Regions from separate parts of the Homo sapiens genome. Here region 1 is linked to region 2. The links are contacts of gene promoters, found by promoter capture Hi-C in blood cells and fetal thymus (Javierre and others, 2016). All regions are on one chromosome and are shown on one strand. Each heading gives the region's core, a stretch centred on a gene start or on the middle of the fragment in contact. The rest is flanking DNA. Distances are from core to core; before and after follow the strand shown. Region 1 holds the start of PNPLA8 (patatin like domain 8, phospholipase A2). Region 2 holds the start of ORC5 (origin recognition complex subunit 5).

The links. Contacts are between HindIII fragments. The CHiCAGO score rates a contact against its expected background, and 5 or more counts as called.
Region 1: a contact is called between a fragment that was not itself captured here and the fragment with the promoter of ORC5 in region 2, in 1 of 17 cell types (naive CD4 T cells). The highest score is 5.5, in naive CD4 T cells.

The regions. Positions count from the first base shown.
Region 1 is chr7:108,523,973-108,530,447 of GRCh38, reverse strand. PNPLA8 (patatin like domain 8, phospholipase A2) reads left to right here and starts at 4,313. Exons shown (of 11, transcript NM_001256007.3): 1 at 4,313-4,419. LOC124901722 (a long non-coding RNA gene) reads right to left here and starts at 3,973. Exons shown (of 2, transcript XR_007060473.1): 1 at 2,803-3,973; 2 at 666-997. RefSeq lists enhancers at 3,695-4,034, 4,325-4,444, 4,216-5,176, 5,856-6,391. The HindIII fragment of the contact is 2,782 bases long and covers 3,451-6,232 here.
Region 2 is chr7:104,206,091-104,212,714 of GRCh38, reverse strand. It overlaps ORC5 (origin recognition complex subunit 5), which reads left to right and starts at 4,702. Exons shown (of 14, transcript NM_002553.4): 1 at 4,702-4,882. The coding sequence starts at 4,811. RefSeq lists enhancers at 4,524-4,683, 4,734-4,813, 4,854-5,043. The HindIII fragment of the contact is 7,936 bases long and covers 4,186-6,624 here.

The DNA.
Region 1 (6,475 bases), core at 3,592-6,091, 4.3 Mb before region 2:
TTCCTGCTCTAGACTCATAATATCCAGTTCATGTCTCCATTAGTGCTCTTTCTACATTAATAGTATTATTACCTAAGGTTATATTTTGAGTTCCGTGACAGTGCTTCAATTTTTTACCTCCAGCAAATAGCTTGGTGCCAGGCACATAGTAAGCACTCAGTAGATAATGGCTGAATGAATAAATTCAATTCTTTCAATATGCACTCACCAAATAGTTACTGAACAATTAACTTTTTTTTTTTTCTTTTTCAAACGGAGCCTCACCCTGTTACCCAGGCTGGAGTGCATTGGCGCGATCTCGGCTCACTGCAACCTCCTCCTCCCGGGTTCAAACCATTCTCCTGCCTCAGCCTCCTGAGTAGCTGGGATTATAGGTGCCCGCCACCACGCCCAGCTAATTTTTGTATTTTTAGCAGAGATGGGGTTTCACCATGTTGGCCAGACTGGTCTCCAACGCCTGACCTCAGGTGATCCACCCGCCTCTGCCTCCCACAGTGCTGGGATTACAGGCATGAGCCAACGCTCCGGGCCACACTTTATTAATAATTGCTGTGCCTTGGTGCTAAGGATCAAAACAGAAAATCCTTGCTTTCATGTTTTCAAACTATATAAAGATAATTATATTAATTTCCTATTGCTGCTGAAACAAAACACTTCAAATTTAGTGGCTTAAAACAACTCAAGTTTATTATGTCACAGTTCTGTAGGTCAGAAGTCCAGCAAGAGTTGACTGGTTCCTCTGTTCCAGGTCTCATAAGGGTGAAATCAAGGTGTCAGCTTACCTGAGCTTTTGTCTGGTACCTCTGGGGAAGAGTGTGCTTTCAGTTTTATTTAGGTTGTTGACAGAATTCAACTCCTTGCGGCTGTGTGGCTGAGGTCTCCATTTCCTTGCTGGCTGTCAGTCAGGAGCCGCTCTTGGTTCCCTATGGCAACCTGCATTCCTTGTCAAATTGTTCCTCTCATTATCTTGATCTCTCTGACTTTCGCTTTGCCACATCTGTACTGATTTTAAGGATTTATGTGATTAGATTGGGCCCACAGAGATAATCCAGGATTATTTTCCTTTCTTAAAATCTGTACCCTTAATTACATCTGCAAAAAGTCCCCTTTGCCATGTAAAGTAGCATATTCACAGGTTCTAAGGATTTGGGCATGGGCATTTTTTAGAAGGCCATTCTTCAGCCTACCATGGTGATTATTCTTCTAGAATTATTTTCTGGCATATCCCTCCCTTAGGTGATCTGGAGAGATATCTTGCACCAATATGGCTTAATTTATTTTGGTTATAATGTTAAGTTTTATTTGAACAATAAAGATATTAGCAGCTCTTTTAAAAAGCTATGAACCAGACCAGAAAGGAGTGACTATGGATGTAGAAGAGCTAAAATAGATAAATCAATAATAAACCTTATAAATAGAATGAGCATAGCAAGTAACTGATACAGGGCAATGTGATGTCTCTTTTACCCAGCTTCCAAAGAATATAGCGTTGAACAATTACTGTATTTAGCATTATTTCAAGTATAGATGATTTCCTGAAGGCATTAGTCTGCTATTATACACAAGATAATCTCCAATTTTGCATACTACTGAATTTGTTTGAAATTAAATATAATTCTCTTTTGTCTCAAAACTGCCCAACATCAAAAGAATCATAAATGGGTTTTATTTTCCATTTTTAACTTATCAAACTAGTAATCTAAATGAAACTAAAAATCAATTCAATAATACAGAATTTTAGAGAGTCTACTATTTGTTGGATGTTACGCTAGATCCAGACAATACAGTTTACCTTACGCTCCTTGACTGCAGGAAACTGGCAGGCATATAAACAAATAAATTATAATACTGTGCAGCAAGGGCAATAAGAGAAGTGAGCACAGGTGGAAGGAATGATTCATTCTATGAGTAGTGAGGTAAGATTTTCCTGGCTGAAGGACAAACAAATCTTTAGGAGGACAAGGTGGAAGGGGAGCTAAGCCAACAGCATGACCAAGGCACTAAGTATGAAAAGGAACAAGAGTATCTGGGGAAGTACAGGTGTGGCTGGAGGATAGAGAGTGAGAGGCAAGTGGTGAAAGTAAAGGCTGGAAGGTCAGCAGGGTCAGAACCTATAATTTCATTCGGTATATTCTGTGAAGATGTACAGCCAGCAAAAGCTTTTTAATTCGGGAAAACACGATTGGACTTGCACTTTCAAAAGATTACCGTGGTTGCACAGAAGAGACTGACTGGGTCAGAGGTTAGTTACAGGCTGGAAAACCAGTTTAGATGAAACTGAAGAGCAAGGATGAAAGCCTGAACTAGAGCAGTGGAAATGCGAATGTGGAGCAGAGGAACGATTCAAGAAATTCTGCGGTAAAACTCATCAGACTTCATGACTGATTAAAGGTATGGTGGTAGACAAGGGAGGGAGAGGAAGGATAAGAATGGAGAAGCAGGAATTGGGCGTTATTTGAAAATTTCTGACATGGGAGGAAAATCTGGATATTTAATAACATCTGACTAAATTAGGGGATGAAAGAGCATAAGCGGAGAGGGAATGGTGGTGCTCTCTCCTTGACCATACTTTAGTTAGGCTCCTCTGAGCCCTCTTCCCAACTAGGCCTCATCCTTGGGCCCCTGTCTTAGGCCTGCTGAGTCCAGTTTTAGCAAGAATCTTGCAAAGTCAGTTTAGAGAGTATCTCCTAGCCTTGATAATTGATCATCTCCGCCTGTCTTCAGCAAGAATCTTGTAAGTCACTTTAACAAGAATATCCCCGACCCTTGATATCACTTCTTAGTAATTTTCCATGAACTGACCCCTCAGTCTGCTTGCTGGTTATAAATCCTAGCTGTTTTTGTTGTATTAAAACTTGAGGCCAATCTCTCTCCCCCATGGTGATAGTCATGGCACCTATTGCAATAGTTCTAAATGTCTTCCTTGACATTTTAACAAGTGTCAGAATAATTTTTCTTTAGCAACAAGGAGGAATCTGTCTCAAAAACTAAAGCTCCTTCCACACGCCTGTAAGGCTTAATTGGTGCATACATCTTTTAACTCTCCTGTAGCTAAATAACATGTCTGGCTTATCCACTGCTGGGGTTTACCAGGCATTATGATGTACATAATCCAGACACTGTGTCCCAAGAACATAGCAAGCTGGCTTTCCCTCCTTGATTTAAAAAAATCAAAACAACACAACTATCAGGGTAACATCCACTACATTTGACAGGTCAAAGAATCCCCTTCCTTAAGGACTTTACAATAACCTTACAGGGGGCTAAAGCATACATACCCATGGGTAGTGGGTAAGCCTTGAGAGTACAGTATAAGTCTTGATAACATTTTGAGGTTGATAACTAGTTGAAACTGATCTGTTTTCCCGACCTCAACGTAATTGCAAGGTCACTTCAAGAGGGTAAGGGGCTATTGCAACTACCCAAATTCGCTATTGTAGTATAAAAGCTTTAATTAACAGCATGTATAGGAATGCAAAGCTATGTTCTAATGAAACTTTAAAAAGCAGACACAAATATGAATGTCATATAATTGTCATCTGTCGCAAAACTTTTTTTTTAACCTTTGAAAAATGTGAAACCCATTTTTAGCTCCTAGTACAGCAGAACCTGCGGTGGGCTGGATTTGCCCTGAGGGCTGTAGTTTGCCCCTGTGGTACGTATGAAATGCCACAATTTTAAAAAGATGTGTTACGTGTGGGACCATTTGTGGGGCGGTTTATGCTAACTTCCAATACAGTAATATATGTCAACTCGCTTTTGAGTGACATTTAGTCTGGGTGGCCATGCCCAGGAATGGATATAGAGAAAGGGGCGCGGCCGCGCCGGGCACCACCCTCCAAGAGACTGGTATCGCAGCCCCCAGCTCCAAGGAACTCAGCGCAGGCAGGGGCTTCAGGGACGCGGAGAGGGAGGCTTATCTCTGCTGAAAGGGAATAGCGGCCCGCAAACAAGCAAACCAGGACACTGCTCCGAGGTCCCGCCCAGGAAGGCAAAACGAAGTCCCACCGCTCTCACACCCGGCAACCAACCAAGGCACAGCACGCCCCACCAGCAAGCCACGCCTCGCGCATCACGCACGCACGCACGCACGCACACACGTCTGTCGCGGCTTCCCGCCTTGCGCTCCGTCATGCTCTATTGCGCATATCTCGGGGCGGGGGAGGAACGGAGATTGACAAGGAGGCAGAGGCCTGAGCGAGGCGGAAAATCCTCACCCCGGCCCGCGGGTAGACCCAAACTTCTAGCGCGTCACTTCCGCTGGGGGCGGAGCGGGGCGGGGCTGAGTGGGTGGCGACCTAGCTGCTGCGCCAGTGTTTGTGTTGGAAGCTCAGCTGATGCAGGCCGGTTGGAGTGGACGTCATTGCCGGGAACGAGCGAGTCGCCGCTGCAGCCCTAGTGACTGCGGCCTGCATCCCGGTAAGTAGCCGCGAGGGGACAGGGGCGGGACGATAGGAGGCTGGTTGATCGTTCTGGACCCTTGTCCGGCGCTCCGGGTCGTCCTTTCTTTCTTTGGAGGGCACTTCCCGAGCGAGAGGGTGGGGACACGCCAGGCTTTGGGGAGGAGCTGGCGCTGGAAGGAGCCCGCAGGTCCTGGAGCTCATTGGTACTCGGCGCCCTCCGCCCCCGTGGGCTTTGCTGCCCCAGAAGCGCAAACCGTATTTGGTTTCGCAGGTCCCGCCCTGCTCCCCCTGTCCCATCCCCACGACTCCCTCCTCAATTTTCCAGAGTCTGTCTGCCTTCCCCTGGACTGTAGTGTTCTCCAGTAGTTAACTGGTCACTCTCAGGAGGGTTTCCCTAGTCTACATCATTCTCGACTGTCAGTGTGCACCTGGTGATTCTACTGCCTGATATTTTTTGTCAGTAATCTCTTTCTGACCCCATCCACATTTGATTCTATCCTTGACCGCTGTTGCTTAAGTGGATAAGGTGTATGAATCACTGTGTTGCAGTGCTTCCTATCCCTGTGTCATTTCTATCATTGTGCTGGAAGGAACCTGCTTTCCACGCCTAATACAATGATAACTTTAAAATGGTGACTCATAGGAAAAACTCAGGAGAGTTGTGACATAAGGGACTATCATATAATCCTGCTTAAAATACTGTTTTCAATTCCAAAACAGTTGTATCCTGGTTCTGCAGTCCTAATTTCTGAGAGTTCAAAAATGACAAATGTTTCAGTGTATTAAGAAAATGCTGTTAAACAGTGAAACATTAAGAGCTTATGCCTTGTGAGGCAGTTGTATCAAGCCCATTTTAGCTATTTTGTTAAATTGCTTATGCAAATTAGTTGTCCTTTCAATATAAGAACATGTTTTTATTTCGTAATTATAATCAACTTTTTCTTAATGTTGATCTCTTTTTTTATTTCTATATCAGGACTAAATTAAAATCTTGTAAACGCCCTTTTAATGAGTGATGTTGAATGAAAGGGCCAGTTTCACTAGTTTAGCTATTCACTTGTTTCACATGCAAAGTTGTTACAAGAACAGCCTGTACTTTGAGTTGTTTTTTTTTACCCCAGTTAGAGGGGTTGTGCTGAAGCTGCATATTGCTTCACTCATGGAATATATATTTGTAAAAAGGTCAGAGTTAGAATGCTGAGCCATAGACACCTTCCTGTCCTGCCATTTTTTGTTGTTGTTGGGAGTCTCTCTCTGTCGCCCAGGCTGGAGTGCCTTGGTGCGATCTCGACTCACTGCAAGGTTCAAACGATTCTCTTGCTTCAGCCTCCCGAGTAGCTGGGATTTACAGGCGTGCGCAACCACACCCGGCTAATTTTTTTAAGTAGAGACGGGTTTCCCCATGTTGGCCAGGCTGCTCTCAAACTCCTGGCCTCAGGTGATCCGCCCGCCTCGGCCTCCCAAAGTGCTGGGATTTCAGGCCTGAGCCACCGCACCTGGCCAGTCATTTCTTAGTTCTTATCTTTCTCTGCAGTACTCAAGTATTTTATTCTGTTCATTATCCATTACTTGAAAAAATTTGGTCCTGTCTTGGTTTTCAGTGTCCTGATTTTTTCAGGGTGGCTTTTCTCCTGTTTTGTTTCCTTTAGAGTCTTTTCTTCCTCTTCCTAGCTCTGGGTGGCACTCAAGGCTCTACCCCTGTCGCTCTCCCTAAACCAGAGTTTCGTGTTTGAAACCCAAATATACTTCAGTGGGCATGTGAATATCCTGAAATATTATGGAAAATATAGTTTGTATTGCAAATACACATTTTTCAAGGAAGAAAAGCTTTACTCAGGTTGCCTGATCCCAAAATAGTCATGTATTATTACTGTAAACTATCATCTGGTAAATACGTCTAATGTTGTGGTTTCTGCTGCCACTATGCTGGTAATTCCACAAGTAAATCCACAGTCTGTGTACATTTCCATTTGAATGTCCCACTGTTACTTCATCCTGTGAATCCAAAAGAAAATGTGTTTTTCTCTCCTATTAAATTGTCCCCTTCACAGTTTTCTCATATTCGCAAATGG
Region 2 (6,624 bases), core at 3,453-5,952:
GAGATTCTGGTATGTTGTGTCTTCGTTCTCGTTGGTTTCAAAGAACATCTTTATTTCTGCCTTCATTTCGTTATGTACCCAGCAGTCATTCAGGAGCAGGTTGTTCCGTTTCCATGTAGTTGAGTGGTTTTGAGTGAGTTTCTTAATCCTGAGTTCTAGTTTGATTGCACTGTGGTCTGAGAGACAATTTGTTATAATTTGTGTTCTTTTACATTTGCTGAGGAGAGCTTTACTTACAACTATGTGGTCAATTTTGGAATAGGTGTGCTGTGGTGCTGAAAAAAATGTATATTCTGTTGATTTGGGGTGGAGAGTTCTGTAGATGTCTATTAGGTCTGCTTGGTGCAGAGCTGAGTTCAATTCCTCGGTATCCTTGTTAACTTTCTGTCTCGTTGATCTGTCTAATGTTGACAGTGGGGTGTTAAAGTTTCCCATTATTATTGTGTGGGAGTCTAAGTCTCTTCGTAGGTCACTCAGGACTTGCTTTATGAATCTGGGTGCTCCTGTATTGGGTGCATATATATTTAGGATAGTTAGCTCTTCTTGTTGAATTGATCCCTTTACCATTATATAACGTCCTTCTTTGTCTCTTTTGATCTTTGTTGGTTTAAAGTATGTTTTATCAGAGACTAGGATTGCAACCCCTGCCTTTTTCTGTTTTCCATTTGCTTGGTAGAGCTTCCGCCATCCTTTTATTTTGAGCCTATGTGTGTCTCTGCACATGAGATGGGTTTACTGAATACAGCACACTGATGGGTCTTCACTCTTTATCCAATTTGCCAGTCTGTGTCTTTTAATTGGAGCATTTAGTCCATTTACATTTAAAGTTAATATTGTTATGTGTGAATTTGATCCTGCCATTATGATGTTAGCTGGTTATTTTGCTCATTAGCTGATGCAGTTTTTCCTACCCTTGATGGTCTTTACATTTTGGCATGATTTTGCAGTGGTTGGTGCCGGTTGTTCCTTTCCATGTTTAGTGCTTCCTTCAGGAGCTCTTTTAGGGCAGGTCTGGTGGTGACAGAATCTCTCAGCATTTGCTTGTCTGTAAAGGATTTTATTTCTCCTTCACTTATGAAGCTTAGTTTGGCTGGATATGAAATTCTGGGTTGAAAATTCTTTTCAATTCTTTTCTTTAAGAATGTTGAATATTGGCCCCCACTCTCTTCTGGTGTGCAGAGTTTTTGCTGAGAGATCTGCTGTTAGTCTGATGGGCTTCTCTTTGTTGGTAATCCAACCTTTCTCTCTGGCTGCCCTTAACATTTTTTCCTTCATTTCAACTTTGGTGAATCTGACAATTATGTGTCTTGGAGTTGCTCTTCTCAAGGAGTATCTTTGTGGCATTCTCTATATTTCCTGAATGTGAATGTTGGCCTGCCTTGCTAGATTGGGGAAGTTCTCCTGGATAATATCTTGCAGAGTGTTTTCCAACTTGGTTCCATTCTCCCCGTCACTTTCAGGTACACCAATCAGACGTAGATTTGGTCTTTTCACACAGTCCCATATTTCCTGGAAGCTTTGTTCGTTTCTTTTTATTCTTTTTTCTCTAAAGTTCCCTTCTCACTTCATTTCATTCATTTCACCTTCCATCACTGATACCCTTTCTTCCAGTTGATCACATTGGCTCCTGAGGCTTCTGCATTCTTCACGTAGTTCTCGAGCCTTGGCTTTCAGCTCCATCAGCTCCTTTAAGCACTTCTCTCTATTGGTTATTCTAGTTATACATTCGTCTAAATTTTTTTCAAAGTGTTTAACTTCTTTGCCTTTGGTTTGAATTTCCTCCTGTAGCTTGGAGTAGTTTGATCGTCTGAAGCCTTCTTCTCTCAACTCGTCAAAGTCATTCTCCGACCAGCTTTGTTCCATTGCTGGTGAGGAACTGCGTTCCTTTGGAGGAGGAGAGGCACTCTGCTTTTTAGAGTTTCCAGTTTTTCTGCTCTGTTTTTTCCCCATCTTTGTGGTTTTATTTACTTTTGGTCTTTGATGCTGGTGATGTACAGATGGGTTTTTGGTGTGGATGTCCCTTCTGTTTGTTAGTTTTCCTTCTAACAGACAGGACCCTCAGCTGCAGGTCTGTTGGAGTTTGCTAGAGGACCACTCCAGACCCTGTTTGCGTGGGTATCAGCAGTGGATGCTGCAGAACAGTGGATATTGGTGAACAGCAAATGTTGCTGCCTGATCATTCCTCTGGAAGTTTTGTCTCAGAGGAGTACCCGGCTGTGTGAGGTGTCATTCTGCCCTTACTGGGGGGTGCCTCCCAGTTAGGCTGCTCAGGGGTCAGGGGTCAGGGACCTACTTGAGGAGGCAGTCTGCCCGTTCTCAGATCTCTAGCTGCATGCTGGGAGAACCACTGCTCTCTTCAAAGCTGTCAGACAGGGACATTTAAGTCTGCAGAGGTTACTGCTGTCTTTTTGTTTGTCTGTGCCCTGCCCCCAGAGGTGGAGCCTACAGAGGCAGGCAGGCCTCCTTGAGCTGTGGTGGGCTCCACCTAGTTTTAGCTTCCTGGCTGCTTTGTTTACCTAAGCAAACCTGGGCAATGGCGGGCGCCCCTCCCCCAGCCTCGCTGCCTCCTTGCAGTTTGATCTCAGACTGCTGTGCTAGCAATCAGCGAGACTCCGTGGGCGTAGGACCGTCGGAGCCAGGTGCAGGATATAATCTCCTGGTGTGCCATTTTTTAAGCCCGTCGGAAAAGCGCAGTATTAGGGTGTGAGTGACCCGATTTTCCAGATGCTGTCTGTCACCCCTTTCTTTGACTAGGAAAGGGAACTCCCTGATCCCTTGCATTTCCTGAGTGAGGCAATGCCTCGCCCTGCTTTGGCTCGTGCACGGTGCACTGCACCCACTATCCTGTGCCCACTGTCTGGCACTCCGTAGTGAGATGAACCCAGTACCGCAGATGGAAATGCAGAAATCACCCGTCTTCTGCATCACTCATGCTGGGAACTGTAGACCAGAGCTGTTCCTATTCGGCCATCTTGGCTGCCTATCGAGGCCATTATTATTCACTGTTTGGGAGACTGCAATAGTCGTTTCAACAAATGAAATTGATTCCACTTTCCACACTGTAGCCAGAAGGAATATTTCTAAGTCAAATCTCAACATTTGCTTCTCTGCCTACAATTCTTTATTGGTCCCCAGCCTGACCTCCTACTACTCTCCAGGTTTATATGTAAAAACTATTTGCTAGTTTCAGTTATGGGATTGCCCATTTGTCCCTTTTTGTCTGTACATTCTTTTGTTTACAATTTCCTTCTTGGTCTCACAGGTGAATCTTTTCTTCAGCCTCAGCTTCCAGGTTCTCTCCTCTGAGAAACCATCCTAAATCATCCAGATGGTAAGGCATGTTCTCTCAGATCAACAATTATCTTTATTATGTAACTGCCAGGCGTTAACTGTGTATGCTGGAAATTGAACTGTGAAGACAGTGTTTCCTGTCCTCATAAAGTATATAGAGAGGGAGACTAACATTTTAGACAGTTTAGTCAGTTTTATTGAATGCTATAAAGATGTCGTGTTATGATTATAATATATGTATACCTTATATGCACAGTATGTTACGGACGTATAACCATCTTAGGAGAGTATCAGAGGCCAGCTTCCCTTGGAGACATTGAAATTTAATGGGTGGTCCCATTATAACCTTTAGAATTCTCTATTAAAAAGTACCTGGGCAAATGCTTTTGAATTGTTGCTGTGAAAATACTATTTTGACTAGCTAATACGTTATATACCACAACTCTCAAAAGATCCTTTTGACCATCACAAATCTAAGACTGATCTACAATCTATGGGCAGATTGAAGTCCACAATTTAAATTTATGTATAACAGGTAGTATGTACAGGATCTTCTACTCCTAGCAATAACCTAGCCAGTATTATCCCTATTTTATAGATAAGGAAGTTGAGGCTCAACTATTCCAAAGTCCCCCTATTCAGCAGTTGAGTCAGTCAGTGGTCCCAACCCAGGGGTTTCAGGACGCCAAGCTCTCTTTCCACCATGCACTTGCCTACTTCTGTATCTTATTTCCAGAATCTTCTAGTGTTTAGTCGCTAGTAGGTGCCTCACAAATAAATACACGTGAAAGCCTAATGCTAAAAGTAGCATTATTTTTACTATCAACCTCACCAACACACACTACGACTTCATCCCATTAGGACTGAGAGGCTTTCCACATCTGGTTTAAAGCTTGCACAAAAAATAGTAATTCCAAGCTGTGCATTAAACCCCATTACACCCTGTTTTGTACTCAATGCCACTAATTTCCCACAACGTCGTCAGGGAAAAAAACGACAACAAAAACATCTTTTGACAATATTAGTCTTCTAAGTCCGCCTTCCACGTCCCTCTAAGGGCCCCAGCTCCGGGTCCGTCTTCTTAGGCACTCAAGGTTTCTAAACTTGGGGCTTCCAGCCGGTAAAACTAAAGGCACGGGGTTCAGGGGTCATTGGAGGCCCACGGGACCCCCTTAACCCCTTCCACCCCTTCCCTATTCGCCCATCTCCATGTCGTCTCCTTAGCCTTTGAGTGGAAAAAGCGTCAGCCCGAAATCCCCACCAAGCCCAAGAATGGGCAAAACCTCGGCGCGCACAGGACCAGCGAGAAGAGGATGGTTCCGGCCCTGAGACTAGAGCGGCGGCGACGCTCGGCGTACGCGCTGCCGTCACGCCGCAGCCCGGCAGCGCAGGCTCCTCCCACGACGCTGCGGGTCCGGTTTCCGGCGGGAGCGTGGGCCGCCAGACTCGGGAGAGGCTCCGTCTTGTGCAAGGGTCCTGTGGGCTGGCTGCACTGGCCTCTGCGGTGGTGCCTGCCAGAATGCCCCACTTGGAAAACGTGGTGCTTTGTCGCGAGTCTCAAGTGTCCATCTTGCAGTCCTTGTTTGGAGAGGTATTGTAGTTAAACTGTCTTCCAGATCCTGGAGGCAGACGTTTCGGTAGTCTTGCGACCTGTTCCAATATTTGTTTTTTCGTGTTTGGATTGAGGGCCAAAAGGCCGTTTTTACGTTAAATAGGGGTGTTGTGGTTCTGTACTGCAGCTTCACCCACAGTCTCTTCCGAATATTGAAGAGGAGACAGTCTGAGAGCGACCGGCCTGCACTATAGGACGTTGCCTAAGACGTATTTGAAACACGCCACACTTTTCAGAAGTTTGCCCACATTAGCTCCTAGAAGTTGCTTGTTATCTTACCCCAACCCAATGACATTTATGTAACAGATGTGTTTGCAGGGTGTTATTTATTCAAATGTAAGTTCACACGTTTCTGTGCGGTAGTTGGAGTGAGTCAAGTGTAGAGAGGTGGTTGCTTTCAAGGCCACTAAGGGCCAAAGCAGTGCTTCAGGTTTAAAAATTTACTGGCTTTTCCAGAATTGTAACAGTCCAGAAGAGGTCTAGGGTAAACTTTTCTCCTTAACTGATAGTTCACAGGATGCCCTAGAGAGGAGTTTGTCTTGTCTGGATGAACATAGATACGTAGGGAGTCCTTTCAATAGGCAGAGGGTAGCGTTCACCAATTCAAAATTTAACCTATTTTTGACTATTTTCTGGTGGTCTTTGATGTGCTTTTTGATTCAGACTCAATCAGAATTGGAATTAATCAAACTTGGATCTTACCTGCGAAGAGAGTGAATGAGAATTCAGGGTCATACTCATACCCCCATCTTCTGGTTTGCTTTTTTAAGTACAGTCATGCGTTGCTGCCACTTAGTGAGGGGGATACGTCCTGAGAAATGCATCGTTAGGCAATTTAATCCCTGTGAATATCAGAAAGTGTATTTACACAAACCTAGATGGTGTAGCCTGCTATACACCTAGGCTGTATGGTGTAGCCTGTTCCTCCTAGGCTATAAACCTCTACAGCGGTGCTACTATACTGAATACTGTAGGCAGTTGTAACACAGTGATAAGTCTGCATCTAAAAGTGTCTAAACATAGAAAAGGTACAGTGAAAATAGGGTATTATAATCTTATGAGATCACTGTTGTATATGTGGTCCATCTTTGAATGTACACGTGACTGTACTTTCATCCAACTAGAAATATTGCATGGCAATTTGAGGTGGCCTGTGAAGCATTAGTGGAAAAGTACTACCCTCTGTCTAAAGGGGTGCATTATTTAGGGAAGTTAGAGGTCAACAACTGCATCTTCAATTAATTTTCTATTTATACTGCTTTCAATTATAGTTATATTATTACTGGAGCATTTTCTTGATTATGTTCTCTGCATTTCATCTATGGAACGCAGATCACTCCAGCCAGAAATGTTCCTGCTGAAAGAGCAAATTGGCAAATAGGGATGAGTAAACTTAGTGGTGGATCACAGAAGAGTTTTTGACCTTTGCTTTTAATGAAAATTATGTTTAACAATATTTTAATATCAGTTTTCTGCAAGGTGCTGTGCATGTGGGAAATACAAACAACTATAGCAAAGAAATATAAAAAATTGGTTCATGTTTCTAAGAATACTCATTTATTTGTTCAATAAATAAATATTTACCGAGCACCTTTTCTGTGTCAGGTACTAGCTTATTGCAGTTTATGTTAGCGAGATTTATGAAGGTGAAAGGTTAAATAACAGTGGAACAGTTCAATATAATTCTAGGTCACAATAGAAAAGATGTTTAAGGTATTATT